Regions from separate parts of the Homo sapiens genome. Here regions 2, 3, 4, 5 and 6 are each linked to region 1. The links are contacts of gene promoters, found by promoter capture Hi-C in blood cells and fetal thymus (Javierre and others, 2016). All regions are on one chromosome and are shown on one strand. The core of a region is centred on a gene start or on the middle of the fragment in contact, and the rest is flanking DNA. Distances in the headings are between cores, read along the strand shown. Region 1 holds the start of SUPT3H (SPT3 homolog, SAGA and STAGA complex component). Region 2 overlaps SUPT3H (SPT3 homolog, SAGA and STAGA complex component). Region 3 has its middle 240 kb from the start of MIR4642. Region 4 has its middle 180 kb from the start of MIR4642. Region 5 overlaps CLIC5 (chloride intracellular channel 5). Region 6 has its middle 29 kb from the start of MIR4642.

Evidence for each region. Contacts are between HindIII fragments. The CHiCAGO score rates a contact against its expected background, and 5 or more counts as called.
Region 2: a fragment that was not itself captured here is called in contact with the fragment with the promoter of SUPT3H in region 1 in 1 of 17 cell types (total CD4 T cells); the score reaches 5.3 in total CD4 T cells.
Region 3: a contact is called between a fragment that was not itself captured here and the fragment with the promoter of SUPT3H in region 1, in 1 of 17 cell types (M0 macrophages). The highest score is 6.1, in M0 macrophages.
Region 4: a contact is called between a fragment that was not itself captured here and the fragment with the promoter of SUPT3H in region 1, in 1 of 17 cell types (monocytes). The highest score is 5.6, in monocytes.
Region 5: a fragment that was not itself captured here is called in contact with the fragment with the promoter of SUPT3H in region 1 in 1 of 17 cell types (M2 macrophages); the score reaches 5.2 in M2 macrophages.
Region 6: a contact is called between a fragment that was not itself captured here and the fragment with the promoter of SUPT3H in region 1, in 1 of 17 cell types (M0 macrophages). The highest score is 5.1, in M0 macrophages.

The regions. Positions count from the first base shown.
Region 1 is chr6:45,376,523-45,379,451 of GRCh38, reverse strand. SUPT3H (SPT3 homolog, SAGA and STAGA complex component) reads left to right here and starts at 1,518. Exons shown (of 11, transcript NM_003599.4): 1 at 1,518-1,684. The region is part of intron 2 of RUNX2 (RUNX family transcription factor 2); the gene reads right to left. RefSeq lists silencers at 1,227-1,276, 1,597-1,876 and an enhancer at 1,043-1,586. The HindIII fragment of the contact is 7,128 bases long and covers 1,097-2,929 here.
Region 2 is chr6:44,859,293-44,862,393 of GRCh38, reverse strand. All of the region lies in intron 10 of SUPT3H (SPT3 homolog, SAGA and STAGA complex component), which reads left to right. Among named protein-coding and RNA genes, the nearest start is that of MIR586, 340 kb to the left of the region's middle. The HindIII fragment of the contact is 2,393 bases long and covers 573-2,965 here.
Region 3 is chr6:44,675,978-44,678,821 of GRCh38, reverse strand. No RefSeq gene overlaps it. Among named protein-coding and RNA genes, the nearest start is that of MIR4642, 240 kb to the right of the region's middle. The HindIII fragment of the contact is 960 bases long and covers 1,073-2,032 here.
Region 4 is chr6:44,617,879-44,621,002 of GRCh38, reverse strand. No RefSeq gene overlaps it. Among named protein-coding and RNA genes, the nearest start is that of MIR4642, 180 kb to the right of the region's middle. RefSeq lists an enhancer at 1-196. The HindIII fragment of the contact is 2,181 bases long and covers 584-2,764 here.
Region 5 is chr6:45,924,801-45,927,786 of GRCh38, reverse strand. The region is part of intron 4 of CLIC5 (chloride intracellular channel 5); the gene reads left to right. Among named protein-coding and RNA genes, the nearest start is that of CLIC5, 90 kb to the left of the region's middle. RefSeq lists enhancers at 1-395, 396-1,060. The HindIII fragment of the contact is 1,119 bases long and covers 910-2,028 here.
Region 6 is chr6:44,463,461-44,466,703 of GRCh38, reverse strand. No RefSeq gene overlaps it. Among named protein-coding and RNA genes, the nearest start is that of MIR4642, 29 kb to the right of the region's middle. The HindIII fragment of the contact is 2,391 bases long and covers 630-3,020 here.

The DNA.
Region 1 (2,929 bases), core at 269-2,768:
ATTAACTGAACATAATTTTAATTGAAATGATCTACTTTTATGTTTCTTTAGATGTGAACATTAATTTTTCTCTTAATCTTCTGTTAACTAATTTCTTGGTAATGTACTCAAAAGAGCTTTCAACCAGTCTTCCCATGTAAGAAGTTATCACCATACTCACTCTGTTACTTTCCCTTATACTGCACACTTTGCTCAGCAATGAATTGATCCCTGATTTACACATCAAGCTGAGCTCTCACATCCTAAATATATCTATTCTTTTGGAATTTTAGGTATTTGGCAAATATTGAAGCGTTGGGGAGATTAAAGAGAATCAAACACAACACTAGCAGACTCAACTACAATCCACAGAGGAAATAACCAAATAAGTTGCTATTTTAAACAATTTAAGCAAATAGAAGGAAGGGATTTCAGAACTCACAGTATCTATAGGCAAGAAAATAACTGAAGCAGTGATGCTTAAAAAGACTTGGTGAGGGTTAATACTTGAATCCCTATAAAATACAGTATTTTATAGTATTTGACAACACAGGTGTGAAGGTGAGCATGGATAACCAGTTTTCTTCTCTAAGCAGGCAATAAGAATGTTAAATATAAATAAGACTTCATATAATATAAAGAGTGAAAGACTGAAAGCATTGTCTTACGACTACTGTATTATTTAAAGAACTACATCTATATCAATTAAATGTGGCAGGACAGAATGTACAGTACAATACTGGGGGTGCAAGATTTTAAAATGAGGAACAGGCCAAAATCTAAACACAGAATCGTCCAAAAAAAAAAAAAAGCCTTCAAGTAGAAAAAGTTTTCAATAACAAAACATGGTAGTTAAACGCCTGCGTCTAGTAACATGAGTTGGGGAAAAAACATTAATAGCAGATTAATGAAACAGATTCTGTGCGAGGTCAGGGTAGGGAGTGATGGCGCGCGGAAGCGGCGTAAGAGCTGGTTTCGCCGTCCCAGAAAGGGTTCCACATCCACACGCCTGTACTGCGGCCCTGCGGGGAGCGTTCAGACCCCTCCGTTTCCCTTCACCATTGTAAACGCGCAATCCCATTAAGATCCCGTTCACTCCAATTCCTGGAAAGAAGCTTAGAACGGTGAATCTCTTCCTCGGAGTTGAAAATCAACTTCCAGTGCCGGTCACCCAATCCTTCAAAAATCCTAGCCCTCTCGGGCCCAATTCCTAAAGAATTCAAGCCTGCACCCTGTACACCCTGACCGATCTCAGCTCGTCCCCACTCCGCTCCCAGCGTCCCCAGCTCTAAACGCCGCCGCGTGGCTCAGCGCTGCCCAAGCCGGGCCCTGAAGGCCGCGCACAACGCCCCGCCCCCGGCGAGCGTGGCGGAAGTAGCTCGCTCGGGCTGGGAGAGCGCGCGCCACCTGGCCAAGCGCGCATGCGCCCGCACTGCCAGTGCGGGGGGCGTCCGTATCGCTTACTCCTCAGTCTCCGCAACCCCCGCCCCACCGAGAGTCGGGCTCACGCCATCTTGTACCCCCCCCATCGCCCCGTCACACAGCCGAGTCACCTTTTCCCTTTCTACACTCCACACTCTCAGTCCCCCACCCCGCCCCTTTCCAAGCGTGTCCCGGGCCGCAGCAGCAGAAACCGCACCATCTCCACCCCCACATTCTCCTCGCGGGAAGCGCAGCAGTGCCTCCAAGGGTTCTTAAAGCAGAGGTTGTAGGGCTTGCGGGGGGCGGTGCGGGGATTCGGGCGGGGGAGACGTCAGAGAGCCGGGAGGGACGCAGAGCGGAGATCCCAGCGTCGCTGGGCCCCCGCGCCGGCCACGCCCTGGCCCCGGCTCGAGGGCGGCTGCCTGGGTCTTCGTGGTCTACGCCGGAGTGTTGAAGGGAGGGCGGCTGTGGGAGGCGCTGGCCGGGCGCAGCGCCCTGGTTCCGCTGCCGAGCGTGGAGTTGCCTCTCGACTCCTCCCTTTTGGCGGGTGGGCGTGGGGTGAGGGGGGCTGGGCTGTGCTGAGAAGCGGGGTGCGCGGGTCGTCTAGGTAGTGTGGGGGCTGCCGGAGGAATCATTAAAGAGGGAAATTGTTGCTTTATGGCACGGCGAGAGAAGAGTTAGGTAGTTAGTGGGAGTGTAGCATCCAGAAAGAGGAAAAGATCCGCTGTGTTCTCTGTGGGGTGAGCTCACGTCTGTGACCCCTGGGGAAATTATTTAGCTTGTCTTTGCCTTGTTTTGGTCTGTAAAATGGCGATCTTATAGCCTATTTCAGAATTGTGAGGATTATATGAGAAAATACACGTTAAACGCTTAGAACAGCGCCAGGTGCTGCTCAGTACATATTAGCTCTGCTTTTGCTCTCCACGTTTTAGGAGTTCAGAATGACTGTGACCTTATTTTCTCAGAGAATCAGGACACTTGGTCTCACACGTGAGAGTGAAGTTATGAAGACAGTGATATGTAATATTTGACACTCAGACGATCCTGGACGTAGTATTACTGTACACGTGGATAAATTAGCATTTCTCCAAGAGGCTAATAGAAATGTTAAGTTATTTCGGTAGAAAGAAATGTGTGTGTATATATATGTATATACATATGTGTGTATATAAGTATATGTATGTGTATATATGTATGTATGTATTTGGAAGGAGAGGACCTGGGGTCTTAGTATATGTGAAGGGCAGACTCTGGAAGAGGAATTAAATTCGCCCTGCAAAGATTTACTTGAAGGACAAAACTTGGGGAATTTCTGGTGAATGTTTCAAAGAGGCTGAATTTGCCTATGAGAAACAGTTCGTGAGAGTACTTTGCAAGAATGGAATGCTCTTCATTGTGCTATGGAAAGTTTCTTATCTCAGGATATTCGGGACGTTGGAGCGAAGTATGCCTAAGTCTAGGGCTGCACTTTTCACTAGCAGTTTCTGCCTTGATGGAGATGTTCCATAATCTGTGCCTTTAGGCACTA
Region 2 (3,101 bases), core at 520-3,019, 520 kb after region 1:
TGTATCATTTCTTTATAAGGTGTAATGTGCGAATCCTTCACAGGCTGTAGTAAGAGCAAGTAGAGGGCACTTCACCTGGTTTTGGGGTTCCAAAAAGGCTTTGTGGAGAAAGGATTGCCTGAGCTGAATTTTGAAGAGTAAGAAGAGTTAAGCCAAGCAGAGAAGGGGGCAAATTGCAGAAGGAGCATGAGCAAAAGTGAGTTCCAAGGAGGTGTGAAACAGCACTGCATTGTCAGGTTATTACCAACATTTTGAAATGCTTAAAGCATGAAGTACATGGTGAGAAATGGCTGGAGATGAGAAGAAAAGGAGAGGCGGGGGCTGAGGCATGGAGAATGCTGTATTTAGGAGCTTGGGTTTAATCCTTAAGGTAGTGTCCTTGCAGGGCTTTTAAGCGAACATCAGAGTCAGAAGGTGTATTATAGGTACTGTCAACTTTTCAGTGGCTTTGAAACTTCAGCCACATAACTTGTTCTTCAAACAAGATCTTACATTTTAGCTTAATATTAAAATCAGATCAAAGCAGAACTGCCCAGTTGAGGTTGGGGTGGAAAACACAGAACTTCCAAGCTTGGTATCTTCCTTATTCTTCCCTAGCCCCTCTTGTCAGCTCCTAGGACAACTCTGGGAAACTTCCAGGGCCCTTCTTAGCACACTGTTAAAAATCAACCCTTTCAATTTTTATATTAGAAAACTGTGGCTGGGGCCAGGCATGGTGGTGGCTCACATCTGTAATCCCAGCACTTTGGGAGGCTGAAGCAGGTGAATCACCTGAGGTCGGGAGTTGAAGACCAGCCTGACCAACATGGTGAAACCCTGTTTCTACTAAAAATACAAAAATTAGCTGGGCGTGATGGCAGACACCTGTAATCCTAGCTACTCAGGAAGCTGAGGCGGGAGAATCGCTTGAATCCAGGAGGCGGAGGTTGTAGTGAGACAAGATTGTGCCACTGTACTCCATCCTGAGCGACAGAGTGAGACTCCTTCTCAAAAAAAAACAAAAAGAAAAGAAAAGAAAACTGTGGCTGAGCATCATGGCCCATGCCTTTAATCCCTTTGGGAAGCTGAGGTGAGAGGATCACTTGAGCCCAGGAGTTTGAGATTAGCCTGGGCAACATAGGAAGACCCCATCTCTACAAAAATAAAACAACTAGCCAGGTGTGGTGGTGCTTGCCTGTAGTCCTAGCTACTCAGGAGGCTGAGGCAGGAGGATCACCAGGAAGTTGAGGCTGCAGTGAGCTGTGATCGTGCTACTACACTCCAGCCTGAATCACAGAGTGACACCCTGTATCCAAAAAATAAAAAAACAAAACAAAACAAAAGAAAGCTATGACTGAGAAAATGAGAAAATTAGAGTATCTCAGTGAATTAATAGCAGAACCCAGGACTCTTGATTCTCAATCTAGTTCTTTTCTGCAGTATAATGTACATCATTGGCAAAAGAAAACTTTTACTGTTTAATACAGAAATTCCTCACTCTTATGCAGGTGCAATAGGTGAGATTAAAAAAATATATATCACCCAAGTAGAATAAATGTTCTACATTGAGTATATCCTTATTAATCTTATTAATGCAGACTTTTTTTAAAAAGATTCTTTTAGAATTGGTTTCTAGTCCATATAGTTTCTTTGCTTTTTTATGTTAGTGGCTAGAATACCAAGTTACCATCCCTCAACTTGAATTTTTTAGGAATTAGATACAGGGAGTTTTTTGTTACAGCCTCTTGTTGTTAATGAAATCACTTGCCATTAAGTCCTAGTAGTGTCTGTTTACTGACCTTGCTTAAATAGTATGTCATGGCTGAATCCTGTTATAATGGCAAAAGCAGTTGAATAAGAGTCGGGAGACCTGGTTCTACTCCCAGTCCGGCCATTAACTGGTTGAATAACATTTGGAAAAGTCACTCAAGCTCAACTGTACAATGAGAAGGTTGAACTAAATTACTTCTAAGGCCCATTCGAGCTCCTACAGTCTGTGATTCTAATTATAGGGTATGTTGTGTTTTATCTGTGAGAGTGGTGATGTTATAGACTGCTGCAAGCTCTCATTTTTGGTGGTCTGAATGACTAAGGATAGCTGGGTACATGAAGCAGTTGATTGTGAATATCTCTGAAGAGACGCAAAAGTGGGCATTTACTCATCAGGGCAGAGGATATGTATTAATGAAATGAGTTCATTTATTTGCAACTATATTCACAGTCTGGGAATTTGAATGGCTTCACTGAAATTCTAGTAATAAATTCCCCACGACCTTATCAGTGGACAGTTCAGCCTTGGGACAGCCCACTTAGCAGATGTTTATTAAGAGTGTTTATGAAGAGCTGTGCTTATCTCAGTGGGAGTCATGGTATATAAACTCTTTTAGGACTCTCAGAATAATAGAAGTCCTTCATAGTCCATTTCTGAATTCCCCATTCTGTGTTTGATTCCCCAATCTCATTTTTCTGCAGAAGCCCTTCCTCAATGTGCTATTTAAAGTCCTTTAAATCAAGCCCTATTACTTTGAGAATAAGTGTGATATAACAAACAATGACATTATTATATTGTAAGGACAAGAAATGGGGTTAAGTTATAAAGCAGAACATTTTTATTTACACAGCAGTGTTTTAATAACCAGCAAAATTTTGGAAGAGAACTAGAAAAATAGTTAAAAGATAAATGGACTTATGTTTCAATGTTATGATTTTTCACATACACTAAAGTTCATTTTTACTTTTTTAAATCCTTGAATTTCGGACAGGACCCTAGGAGAGTTGTTGGTATCCTTTGGTCAACACATTTGTCAGGGTATTTTCTTTTTTCAATGTCCTTCTATGGTTCTATTAAGCAATAACCTCATTAGCACCACATTCTGAGTGGTATAGTATGATAGCTTTACTACAAAGGGGTTCTGTATTTCACTTGCCAGGATATAACACTCTTATGACAGGAGAGAAAAAGAAAACTTGCTATGAAGGGGAAGCTTAGACATTATTTACTCTAAATATTGGAGCTTTCCATTTGAAAGTTTACAGAGGCTGAAGAATTGTTGAATTTGGAGATTTTGAAATGAAAATCTCCAGCAAGCTCTAAAAATGTTTCCACCTTAAAAAACAAGTTC
Region 3 (2,844 bases), core at 303-2,802, 700 kb after region 1:
GGGGCTGGAGTTAGATGGAGCCTCCACCTCTGGATAAGATAGAGAGACAAGAGGAGAAGCAAGGGGGAGGCCGGGCGGGGCAGCTCCCCCAGCTCACAGGAGGCTTCTGTCTCACCCCTTCTCTCTGAAGCAGTGGAGTCATGTGGGTGCCAAACAGGTGTGCCTGGACCACCAAGGCCCTCCGTGGCCCAGTGAGGGATGGACAGAGGAGGAGACAGAGAGGGGATAAGGGATCTTGGCACTAAGCCCTGGAGTGTGTGTGCACACGTGCGTGCATGAGTGTGTATGTGTGTGTGCATGACTCTAGAATAGATCACACACAGACACACTGAGACACACACCCTGGAGCAGGGACAGTCAGCTGACAGGCAGGCATGACCCTGAGCAGCTCTGCCATGCCAGCCCTGGGTTTCTTGCAGGGGTGACGTGTCATCCATCCCTTTTGGAAGTGGAGTCATGGGGGCAGGGAGATCATGCCTCCAGATAAGGGTCCAAGCTGGTGGATACCTTCACTCCAGGAGAATGAAGGCAGGGAAAAGTGTTCATGGAGCGGAAACTGGGATGTTCCCTCAGCTCTTCGGACTAGGGCTTGTACACTTTCTTTTGACTCCTATCATGCCCCTCCTGACACTATGTTCTAGGGGTAACTCATCCTTCTCTACAGCTAAACTGTGAGGCAGGGACAGAGACAGGGCCTAGCACTCCTGGCAGTGGTGCACACAGTTGATGCACGAGTGAAGAGATACTATTTTGTCACTGTTATGTGGGGGCTGTGATACCCCTAGGCTGCGGTGGCTTGTGATGTTACTCATGACATCTACTTAGTGTGTGTTATATTCCAGGAATAGTGCAATGCAGGCACCCAGCATGTGCGTATGTGCGGGTCTGTGTGTGTGTGCATGTATGCGTGTGCACATGTGCATGTGTGTGCATAGGGTAGGGAATGATGCTGTCACCAGTTACCACCTCTTCTCTATCCTTTGTCTTTTGAGATCTTTTTTTTTAAGCCCATACATGGAATTCCAGCTGTAGGTCAACACATGCTACAAGAAAATTTTTTTTAATAAAAGCTTGCCACAAGTTACATGAAAACATGGCCCATTCTAATCACAGAGGGGCTTAAAAGCAGAAAACTTTCTCTGGCTGGAGTCAGAGAGATGAGGCAGGGGAGAAAGGCAGAAGAGATATGGCTGAGGGAAGTCAGAGAGATTGGAAGTGTGAGAAGAACTTGACCCACTTTTGCTGTTTGAAGATGGAGGGAGCAGTGGCGAGAGTGGCTTTACAGAGCAGAGAGAGGCTCTTGGATGACATCAGAAAGGGGCTAGATCCTGAATTCTCTTCCACAGCCTCTGGATCAGGGCCCAGGCTAGTGGATACCTTGATTTTGGACCGTGAGACCCTAAGCTGAGCCATGCTGTACCAGACTTCCGCCCTACAGAACTGTGATATAATAAGTGGGTGTTGTTTTAAGCCACAGAGTTCGTGGTTCCACAGCAATGGGAGATAATCCATCCTCCCATCTGGCTTTGCAGAGGCCCCTGGGTGCCAGTCTGTCTTGGGCGGTTCCTTAGCCTCTCTTGGGTGCTTCTTAGTCCTTGGCCTGGGAACCAAGAAACTAATTCCTGCTAATACGTAAGTAGCAGTGACATGGATGTCTTTTAGCTGAGGCTTTGGAGGGGATTTAACAGGAGACTCACAGGCATTCACATGGGTTGGAGGTGACAGTGCAAACCAAGCCAACAGAGCCGACTCTTCTCCCAGCTCAGCCTCTGCTCACAAATCTCATTTCTGATATTACTTCTGAGGGATCCAGTCACAGGAAGCAGCCTACAGGCTAAGCAGCTCTTTGAGGCTGACTCAGCCAGCGGCCTTATGGGATTTAAAGCCCAGGCTCCAGAGTGTCTAGGACTGGGACAGGAGACCACAAAACCAGCATCCCCACTGCGTCCAGCCAGGTCCTACCTGCCAATAAATGCCTCCTTCTGCTAAGCGGTGACTGCTTTTGTTTGCCAGAAGTCATCTCATTGAAGCTTGTAATCGTCTTCTCTCCTCCTCCAGGGAGACCACCAGCTTGGGAGACAGAGGTCTATATGGCCTGCACCGGCTCTCCCTCCTGCCTCTGCAGACTCAGTAGGCACAGCCTCACCCCTGAGTATCCGAGTCACTGACGAACATGCTCAGTGGGCCAAGGCTGAGGGCATCTTTGTTGGAATGTTTGGTTCCAATGTTCTAGGTGGCAAACTCCATGCCCTGTGGCCCTCCTCAAGGACGTGCCCCTCCAGGGTAACACCAACCCAGTCACTGCTTCCCCTTGAAGACAGTCATTCAACCAGTCACTGTCCCAACCACACAGTATAGTTCTCTGGTCTTGTCCAGAAACCCCGTATCTACTGTCTTTTACTGATATGCTAATCCTGGCACCCTGCCAGGAGGGCAACATGGATGCATGGACACACTCTCTCCCAGTGCATTCATGCTTCTCTCCAGGGGGCACTCCCAGGAGAAGCAGTGTGGCGCAGCAGTTAGGGCACAGCCCTGGAGCCAGGTGCCTCGGTGTGGATCCTGGCTCTGCTACTTGCTACCTGCGTGGCACTGGGCAAAGCTGTTAACCACATTCTCTGTCTCAATATCCTCATCTGCAGAGTCCAAGTAATCATCATAGCCAATTAAATACTATTTGGCCATAAAAAAGAATGAGATCCTGTCATTTGCTGAGCATACATGGGTGAAACTGGAGGTCATTATGGTAAGCGAAATGAGCCAGATATGGAAAGACAAACATCGCATGTTCTCACTCATGTGTGGGAGCTTTTTAAAAAGTTGATCTTGTGGACGTGAAGAGTA
Region 4 (3,124 bases), core at 425-2,924, 760 kb after region 1:
AGAAGTGATACAATTGGAAGCCCATATTTGAAGAAAAGAACACGAACTGGCTTCTTATCAGAGGTGCAGCGTTTTAGGAATCTAGCAGCTAAGTTACATTCAGGTGAAGGCAAACACCAGCAGACAGATATTCGTGCACTTGTGTCAACTGTCGGGATGGGTACCTTGGGAATACCAATATGTCCTTTAAGAACAAAATTTAACTCACCTGTTATTTTCCAACTCAAATATCCTTCCTTCCACTGAACCTGCCTGATTATTTCACACCCTCCATGGTAGAAATAATGTCCTCCTCTGAACTGGGACAAAAAAAATATAGCCATATGTCTGCTATAATATTGAATCATTTCTACTTTTCATTATGGTTTTTGCTGCCTGTGAGCAGTTTGGGGAAAGGTCTCCTATCTGACTTTTCCGTGACATCCTGGTCCCCCACAAAGCACCCGGCATGTGACAGTCACACAAGAAATGTTTACTGGATGAGCAAATGAATTTCTCAGGTTGTTGTCTCTGAAGTGGAAACTTTAGCCTCCGTGGGTGGTCTCAAGTGGAGACGCAAACCTGCCACAATCACACGCAAGCTTCTGAGGACACTCCATGCACAGGTGCTATTTGGGGAGGAGTCCACAGATTGTATTAGATTTCCAGAGGGATCCAGTTCCCCAAAAGATTAAGAACCACAGCTCTGGAACTGGGGAGACAGTCCAGATGAGGCAGTCTCTGTGACAGCTTTGGACTTGCGCCCCCAGGAGTGCCTGGTGGTGAGCTTCTGGAAGCTGGAAGATAGGCCATGCCTCCACTCTGTCCCTCTCTCCTTGGCTCACTCAACAATAATAACGTCAATAAATGCCACCATTTTTCAGGGACCTATAGGGTCTGCTCTAGTATTTGCTATATTGCAAATGAAGAACCAAGCCTCAAAGAGGAAGGTGTCACTGATGTCACAGAGCCAGTAAGTGCAGGGCTGGATTCTGAACCCAGGCCTTACTTCAGAGTCCTTATAGCTCTTCCTCTGAGGCAGCTCATCAAATCCATGCAAGTAAGACATCAAGTAGTGTCCCTGGATGACAGGGGCTTCCAGTAAGGAACCCCTAGAGTCTCACCTATATAAAGTGTGTGTGTGTGTGTGCACGTGTGTGATAACGGATGGATGGATGGATGGATCACTGGGTAGAAAAGGAGAAAAGGGACTCCTGCCTTTAGCTTCTTCTAGATGTTTATTATCCAATCCATAGGTATGGCACAGACTGAATTCTATGGATAAACCCTGATTTGGAGAACAATAAATTCAAATAAGAAGGCTGTTGCACTGTGTTAAATATGCTCACCCACCACCACTAAATTAATGTTGAAATCCTAACCCCTAGTACCACCAGAATATGATCTTACTTGGAAATAGGGTCATCGCACATGTGATCAGTTAAGATGAGGCCATACTACAGAGTATGATGATCCCGTAATCCAATATGATCAATGTCCTTATAAAAGAGGAAATTTAGACACAGACAGACACACAGACACACACAGGGAGATGACCATGTGAAGACGAAGGCAGAGGTCCGCAAGCGAAGGGACACCAAAGGTCGTAGCAAGCCACCAGAAGCGAGGAACAGGCTTCCCTCACAGCCCTCAGAAGGAGCCAACCCTGCCCACAACTTGATCTTGGCCATCTGGCCTCCAGAACTGTGAGAGAATAAACTTCTGTTGTTGAAGCGACCCAGTTTGTGGTACCTTGCTATGGCAGCCCAACCAAACAAATACACTGTTTCTCCAAAAGTGTGAAGGTGTGAAAAGGTGCATGTGATCTGAACTCTAGTTCTATCTCATGTGCCAAATTCTAACCTTTGACTCTTTTAGCCTCCCACAAGCTGTAGACAAACAATTCAGGCAGTATTGGCATGGCAGGAGTGACAGAAAGCTATTATGGATTGATTCGATTTTGCCCAGCACATGGCTTTGTCTTCATCAGACTTTTCTTAAATTTTGTACACTCCTTAACTCAAACCACTGCTCTTCAGATGTTTGCATTGCTTATTTGTTTATTTCCAAGGAATACTTAACCAAATCAGAAGCCAAGGCTCTGGAAATCTGGTTGGAACATAACCTCCTCCAGTTCCTAGCTTTACAACGGAGCAACCCTCAGTCCTTAACTGTGACCCATGAGTATTGGACCCTGGGCAAGTCTCACGGAGGGGAAAGGAAAGAGGCCTGAGGACAGCCCCTGCCCAGAAGGTGTCTCCAGCCCAGCCCAGGAGATAAGACTGAAAGGCAGAGTATAAGGTCTGTGTGATGATAACAGAAAACAACGCAAGAGAAGTCACAGCAACAGCCACGTGAGAAACACAACCAGAGTGATGAGTTCCAAAAAGGGAGAGCGAAATTTGGGGAAGTTAAAAAGATGAGAACGGATAAATTAAAATGTGCAGTAGATTGAAATTCAGGCTTTGCCCAAGTCAAGGGGAACTTGAAACTCAAGTTCCCAGATCACATCTAAATTTGGAGCTGTAGTTTTAAGTGGGTTTGAAACCCTGCCAAATTGCCCATCTTTTGGGTTCAAATCTCTTGATTTATTTGAAGCCACAAACATGGCATTTCTAAACAGAGGAACCAAAAACCAGAGAACTCAGCTGGGTTGGAACCCTTCATTATCGTTAATGCCTCTGAGTCCTCAAGGAGCAAGTCCTTACCCCACTGTGGGTGAAAGACAGGGCCTGTTGTGCTTCAGGTGCGTTTTCCGTTCTGTTTTCACTCACATTAAGAAGCTTAAGCCCCTGAGCTGGAGTTACTGAGCCCTTGCTGTGTGCCAGGAACTGGGCTGCATTCATGAGAGCTGCCTGTGGGGCCTGTACCACAACCTGCCCTGGCCTCACACTTGGGACTTAGCCCAGGGACTAAATCATGTACAAGTGCAAAGTAACAAGCCCATACCTGCAGGATGGAGCCACAGACTGGGTCAATACAGATCCAGAAATAGAAGGCACCAGAGGTAACAACTTCCATACATTGTCTTCACTCACAGCTGTCATAATTTACCCACAAATTGATTCAATCTTTAGCAGTGAACAGTGAAATCCGGTAACTGAGGACATCCTCTCCTAAGGGTTCAGTGACCTCTGATTTTCTA
Region 5 (2,986 bases), core at 220-2,719, 550 kb before region 1:
TGGCTTTGAATTCTAGTTTCACAGCATCCTCATCAAAGGACAGTAAACTTTTAGAGATGTGACAAGGGAAAAAACACTTTGAGTCTCTAGGGGCAGCAACTTCGGGGGATAGCAAATGAATGGCAGATAAAGGCCAGTTAGCAAAGCTTGTTCAATGTAGATTCCTGCAGGGCCATCTCCAGGAGCATAAGCGTCTTAAGTTGTTTTCAGTGGTTCTCCCTGGTAGAAGGGGGGAGGCAAGATACGTTTTGTCTTTGTAAATCTACGTCCTGCTTTTAGACAAATAGAGGGAGGGCAGAGAGCTTTACTGCCTCTGTTTCTTCTGAATTGTCTTCATCTCAACAATCCTTCCTATTTTGGGGGTGGCATATCCTGGTTTCCCACAGGGTCTTGTTACGAAGCAGATATTGAGGTAGTGGATCTGGGGCAAGGCCTGAGAGCTCCCAGGCGATTCGGACACTGTTGGTCCAGGGCTGTGCTGTGAGAAACAGGGTTCTGAGCAGCTGTCTCTGTGAGGAAGCATGCTGGGTGTGCCTCCTTCATCATTGTCACCCCAGACCCCAGCTCAGCATCTGACCCAGGGCAGATGGTCCATCAATATTTGTTAAATGAGAGAAAAAAAAGTATACAAACACTTCAACACACCTCTACCTTGTCTATGCCTTTGCTTGGGAGATGATGACGGGGCCTCATCAGAGCCACGGGCACGTCCTCCAGCCACTTCCTGTCCCCGCTGTGGAACCTCACCTTTTAAATCTGTCCCCATGTTGCAGACTCCCCTATGCTCTGACTGTATTTATTTAAAACTTCCCAGTCCCCATTTAAATCCTATGATGTTCTGTGACTAGCATTGTCTTTGACGTGAGAACATACAATGCTTTTGTAGCCTCTGTTATATGATATCAAGCTTCATGGTGAATAATCTCACTTAGAACCAATCAATAAAAGAATGCAAGAACCTGAGCAGCTCTCCTCACTAGGATGGCCAGTGTGCTGGCGGGCTTCGCTGAAGTGGGATTTTTCTTTTCACCATTATTTTTATAACCACATTCAAGGGAAATTCTATTTGGTGTTAAAAGTGATACTTCACCAAGAGTCAAAAGAGAAAACACAGAAGGCTAAATTCTAGACTTTTTTCAGCTAGCAGCCAGAGGTCAAATTATTTTTCTAAGACCCCTGGTGGACAAAGCATTTAATGATCTGGATCAAGGTAAATAAAATACGTTTCTCTGGCCGGGCGCGGTGGCTCATGCCTATAATCCCAGCACTTTGGGAAGCCGAGGGGGGCGGATCACAAGGTCAGGAGTTCAAGACCAGCCTGGCCAATATGGTGAAACCCCATCTCTACTAAAAATACAAAAAAAAAAAAAATTTAGCCGGGTGTGGTGGCGGGTGCCTGTAGTCCCAGCTACTCGGGAGGCTGAGGCAGGAGAATGCCATGAACCCAGGAGGTGGAGCTTGCAGTGAGCCGAGATCACACCACTGCACTCCAGCCTGGGTGACAGAGCGAGACTCCATTTCAAAAAAAATAAAAAAAATAAAATATATATATATATATGTATATGTATGTATATATGTGTGTGTGTGTGTGTATGTGTGTGTGTGTATATATGTTTCTCTGTGCTAGTGTCTAGAACCTCTTCCCTTCCAGAACATTCTGGGGAGGGGAGGGTTGAGCCACGTGATTTCTCAGACCTCCTGCACTCAGCTCTAACTCTGATGGTCTCATGCCCACTGATGTTTGCAATGATAGTTATCCATGTTCTGTTTCCATTGTGGGGACCCTAAGATGAGTTTTACTCAACATTTTGCCCAGGTCTGAAACTGCCTCAGTCCTACCTGAGTCGTTTGGCAGAGAGGTTGATGCTAACCTATGCTTCTCTCTTGGCTCTGATAACAAAGTGGCTGGGACTCTGTGGGAGGGTATCTCAGGCCAAACTAATTGAATCCCTTCATCTATCCTCAAAAGACCAAGGGCTACTATTATACAAAGAAAGGGAACTGTTGTTCCTCTACAGAGTTAAAGCTTATTACATAAGTATATAAATAGAGTCACATGATTTTAGGGTCCTTCATCTTTCCTCAAACCCCACTGAACGGCTTATTCTTTCAACAAATACTTATTCAGTACCATACGCTGTGCAAGGTGCTAGAATAAAAGTGAAATAATGAGGCTGAGCGCGACGGCTCATGCCTGTAATCTCAGCACTTTGGGAGGCCAGGGCAGGCGGATCACGAGGTCAGGAGTTCAAGACCAGCCTGGCCAATATGGTGAAACCCAGTCTCTACTAAAAATACAAAAATTAGCCAGGCGTGGTGGCACGCGCCTGTAGTCCCAGCTACTTGGGAGGCTGAGGCAGAAGAATTGCTTGAGCCAGGGAGATGGAGTTTGCAGTGAGCTGAGATCGCACCATTGCATTCCAGCCTGGGTGACAGAGCGAGACTCTATCTCAAAAAAAAAAAAAAAAAGCGGAATAATGACATGTTGGCATGTTGGCAATACCTATGTATATTGGCAAATGTTGTGTTTGGCTGTTTGTAATAGAAGCCTGACTACAGTGGCTAAAGCAAACATGTATTTTATTAGCAAAACCTATATAGCATTTTACTATGAACCATGCCCTGTTCTAAGCACTCTTGATAAATGTTTACTTCTTAAGAGGAATTTGCTTTTCTCACATGACAAGAAGTCCAGAGAGTAGAGAGTTCCAGGCAAATGTAGTTGCTGAAAGAAGTCGAGAATTGAGCTGCTGCTTAGAGCTCCTAATTCTCCATCTTTCGTGTGTGACTTTCATTCTTGTTTCACAGGATGGTTGCTCCACCCCCAAACATCACATCCGCATTCCAGACAATGCCAGCCGCATCTATCTTATCTTTCCCAGAAGCCCATTGATTAATTTCTACCGATATCTCTTTAGCCAGAACTTGGTTATTTGGCCTTCTGTAGCTGAAATTCTGGGAATCTAGGAAGATGAGTATTTTTGAT
Region 6 (3,243 bases), core at 576-3,075, 910 kb after region 1:
GGAGAATCACTTGAACCCGGGAGGCAGATGTTGCAGTGAGCAGAGATCACACCACTGCACTCCAGCCTGGGCAAAAAGCGAAACTCTGTCTCAAAAAATAAATAAATAAAAATAAATCCAGGAGTTCTCTGCCAGGGGTTGGAGACATGAGCTGTTCACTAAGCCTGATGACTTTGAATAATTATGAATTTATTCACAAAAAAAATGTGTATAGTGTATGCCAGGGGTCAACTGTGTAACTGGGTGTTTGTCTAATTAACTTCCATGTAAAATATGTTTATTTAGTAAAAGGTAAGAAATTAGGCCAGGCGCAGTGGTTCACGCTTGTAATCCCAGCACTTTGGGAGGCTGAGGTGGGCAGATCACCTGAGGTCAGGAGTTCGAGACCAGCCTGGCCAACATGATGAAACCCCGTCTCTACTAAAACTACAAAAATTATCCAGGCATGGTGGCGGGTGCCTGTAATCCCAGCTACTTGGGAGGCTGAGGCAGGAGAATCGCTTGAACCTGGGAGGTGGAGGTTGCAGTGAGCTGAGATTGTGCCACTGCAGTCCAGCCTGGGCGACAAAGCTAGAGTCCCTCTCAAAAAAAAAAAAAAGTAAGAAATTAAAACAAGCCAATTTTAAGCTTACATGTATATTAACACAATAGTAACCACAGCAATTGTTTAAGAGTTAAACCAATTAAAGATTTTTTTTTAAGGAGGGGGTAGGTTATCACTGATATAGTTCAGAATTGCTGATTACTGCTGCATGGTGATAATGAAAAGCAGACCAATTCTTACCCATTTATATAGTCTTTAGTGAATGTATGTCCCGCTGGACTGCTTTCACCACCTGCACTGTTACCACTCTCAGAAGTGTCCCAGTTTAGATGATAAATTATTAAATATATGGTCAGTGGTTTATTTGAATCTTTGTTTTTGCTTATATGGGGGCAGGAGGGGAAAAAATTGCTGTTGGGCACAACTGAGAGAGGAAAGAAGCCTGGAGCTACACAGCAAACAATGAATTAATACTTTGAGGTCTTCTTGCTGGACTGGAATCTGCTTCCATGGCCCTGCTTCTCTTCCTTGGGGTCACATGAAAGAAAATTAAGCCTCTTGCATGTTACAGCCCTTCAAATTGGGGAAGGGCTTGCTACAGGTTGAACTGTGTCTTCTCCAAAAAAGATGTTAGAGTCCTAACCCCAATACCTGTGAATGTGACCTTAACTGGAATAGGGTCTTTGCAGATGAGCAAGCTAAAATGAGGTCATTAGGGTGGGCCCTAATCCAATACACCTGGTGTCCTTACAAAAGAGGGAAGCATGGACAGAGGCAAGCACACAGGAAGAATGCCATGTGAAGATGAAAACAGAGACTGGGGTGATGGAGCTACAGTACAATGAATGCCAAAGATTGCCAGCAAACTGTCAGAAGCCAGGAGAGAGGCAAGGAACAGGTTCTCCCCCACAGCCCCCAGAAGAGCCAACCCTGATGACACCTTGACCTTGGACTTCTAGCCTCCAAAACGGAGAGACAGTAAAGTCTGTTGTTTCAGCCCGCAGTGTGCAGCACTGTGTTACGGCAGCCCGAGGCACCTAACACGGGGCTCTTACATCACTTTCCCACGCCCCACCAGCTCTCCGCCCAACCACGACTCCCATCTCTTCGCCCTGATGATTCTGTTTCCCCCAAAGTTCATAACTGAACACAATTCCCCTTCTAGTCTTATACAGAGGCCATTGGTATCTAGGCCCCAAATCTGTCAGATTCTTCTATTCATCGTTATCTCATTTCATACTGTTACATTCAGCTCATCATTCTGTTTGGTCAAAATACTTTTTGCATCCTGCAATATTTTTCAAATCATGAGCTCTCCTGACCAGCTTCAAATCATCCCGGAATGTAATAAGTGTGCTTTTTAGGCTTTCCTGCAAGTGAATGCTTGGAATGTTAAGCAGTCCTGGGTCAAGGGCAGAGTCTGGGGCACACCGCCAGATACCGCCCTTGGGGATGACACTATTCCCTTAATCAGCACAACTTTTTGTGCTGACCTTGTACCTTGGTGCTTTTATTTCTTTAAATATTGTCCTATCTTGACCATAGTTACATCAAGTTTTATAAAACAAAGTTTTATAAACACAAAGGTAGTAATTAAGTCTTTCTCTTGACTTTTACCATTATTTAATGAAAAGATTTACTTTACATGAAAAGTAATATTGGCCGGAGTGTTCCCTCTTCCTGTTTCTCTCCGTTATTCACAGTTGGCCCAACCGCATCAGGCGCTCCTGAAGGCCTGGTTCCACCACCAGCAATGTTAAGTTCTGCATTGGGGAAAATAATTATGCTCTTTAGGGATATCTTTGCACATTCAGAAAGTCCAGAGATGGTCAATCCGGGCTGGCGTGGCACTCCCTGGTGTATGTGGACCTGGGCCCCTGCTGTCTTGTCCTCCCTCATGCCTGGCCACCCTTCCCAGTGTCTCCTTGTGGCAGGTACAGTGGCCACAGGGCTGCGAGCCTCTAGTGTCTGCCTCTAGCTGGCAGAAGAGAATAAGGAGGGTACAGCCTCTCCCATCTTAAGAACACGTCTCTTGCACTCATCATTCCTGTTCTGTTCCACTGGCCAGGACTTAGACACACCACCTTCTTAATATGGGCTTTGAAGACTGACTGTTAAAGACTGCAGAGAATGTCCACTGAGAGAGTGCTGGTGATTTTGCTAAAATATGAAACACATTTGGAGACTAGGCCATGTATAGGAAATGTGGGGCTTGTAACTTTGGATTCCTTTCCAAAGTGTGGAATTTATCTGTAAAGTAAGTGTGTTCATTGGAATTTAGTTCAGCTGTAACAGAAAACCCCGCAGTAACAGTGGTTTGCTTCTGTTTCCCGTGTATGAATGTTTTAAATGACAGTAATGCCTACCACCGACTGAAGGCCTGCTGCGTGCCAGGAATGGGCCTAGATACTTTCCATTTCACCTTCTCGAGACCCAGTAAAGGAGGGCCCCCCTTTACAGGTGAAGAGCTAAAGCTTGGAGAAGGGAAGTAACCTGTCCAAGGTCACACAGCTCCTTCATGGTAGAGCCTGCAGGAACTCAAAGCTCTTTCCACTCCACTGACCACACCAGAGGATGACAAGTGCCACCCTCACTGCACCCAGGTCAACTAGGTGGAAAGGGACCTCGCCCAGCTGACTGTTTGGTGACAGAAGCATGTTTTCCTGGACATGTGTGCTAAATGGTGAAAACTAAAATTG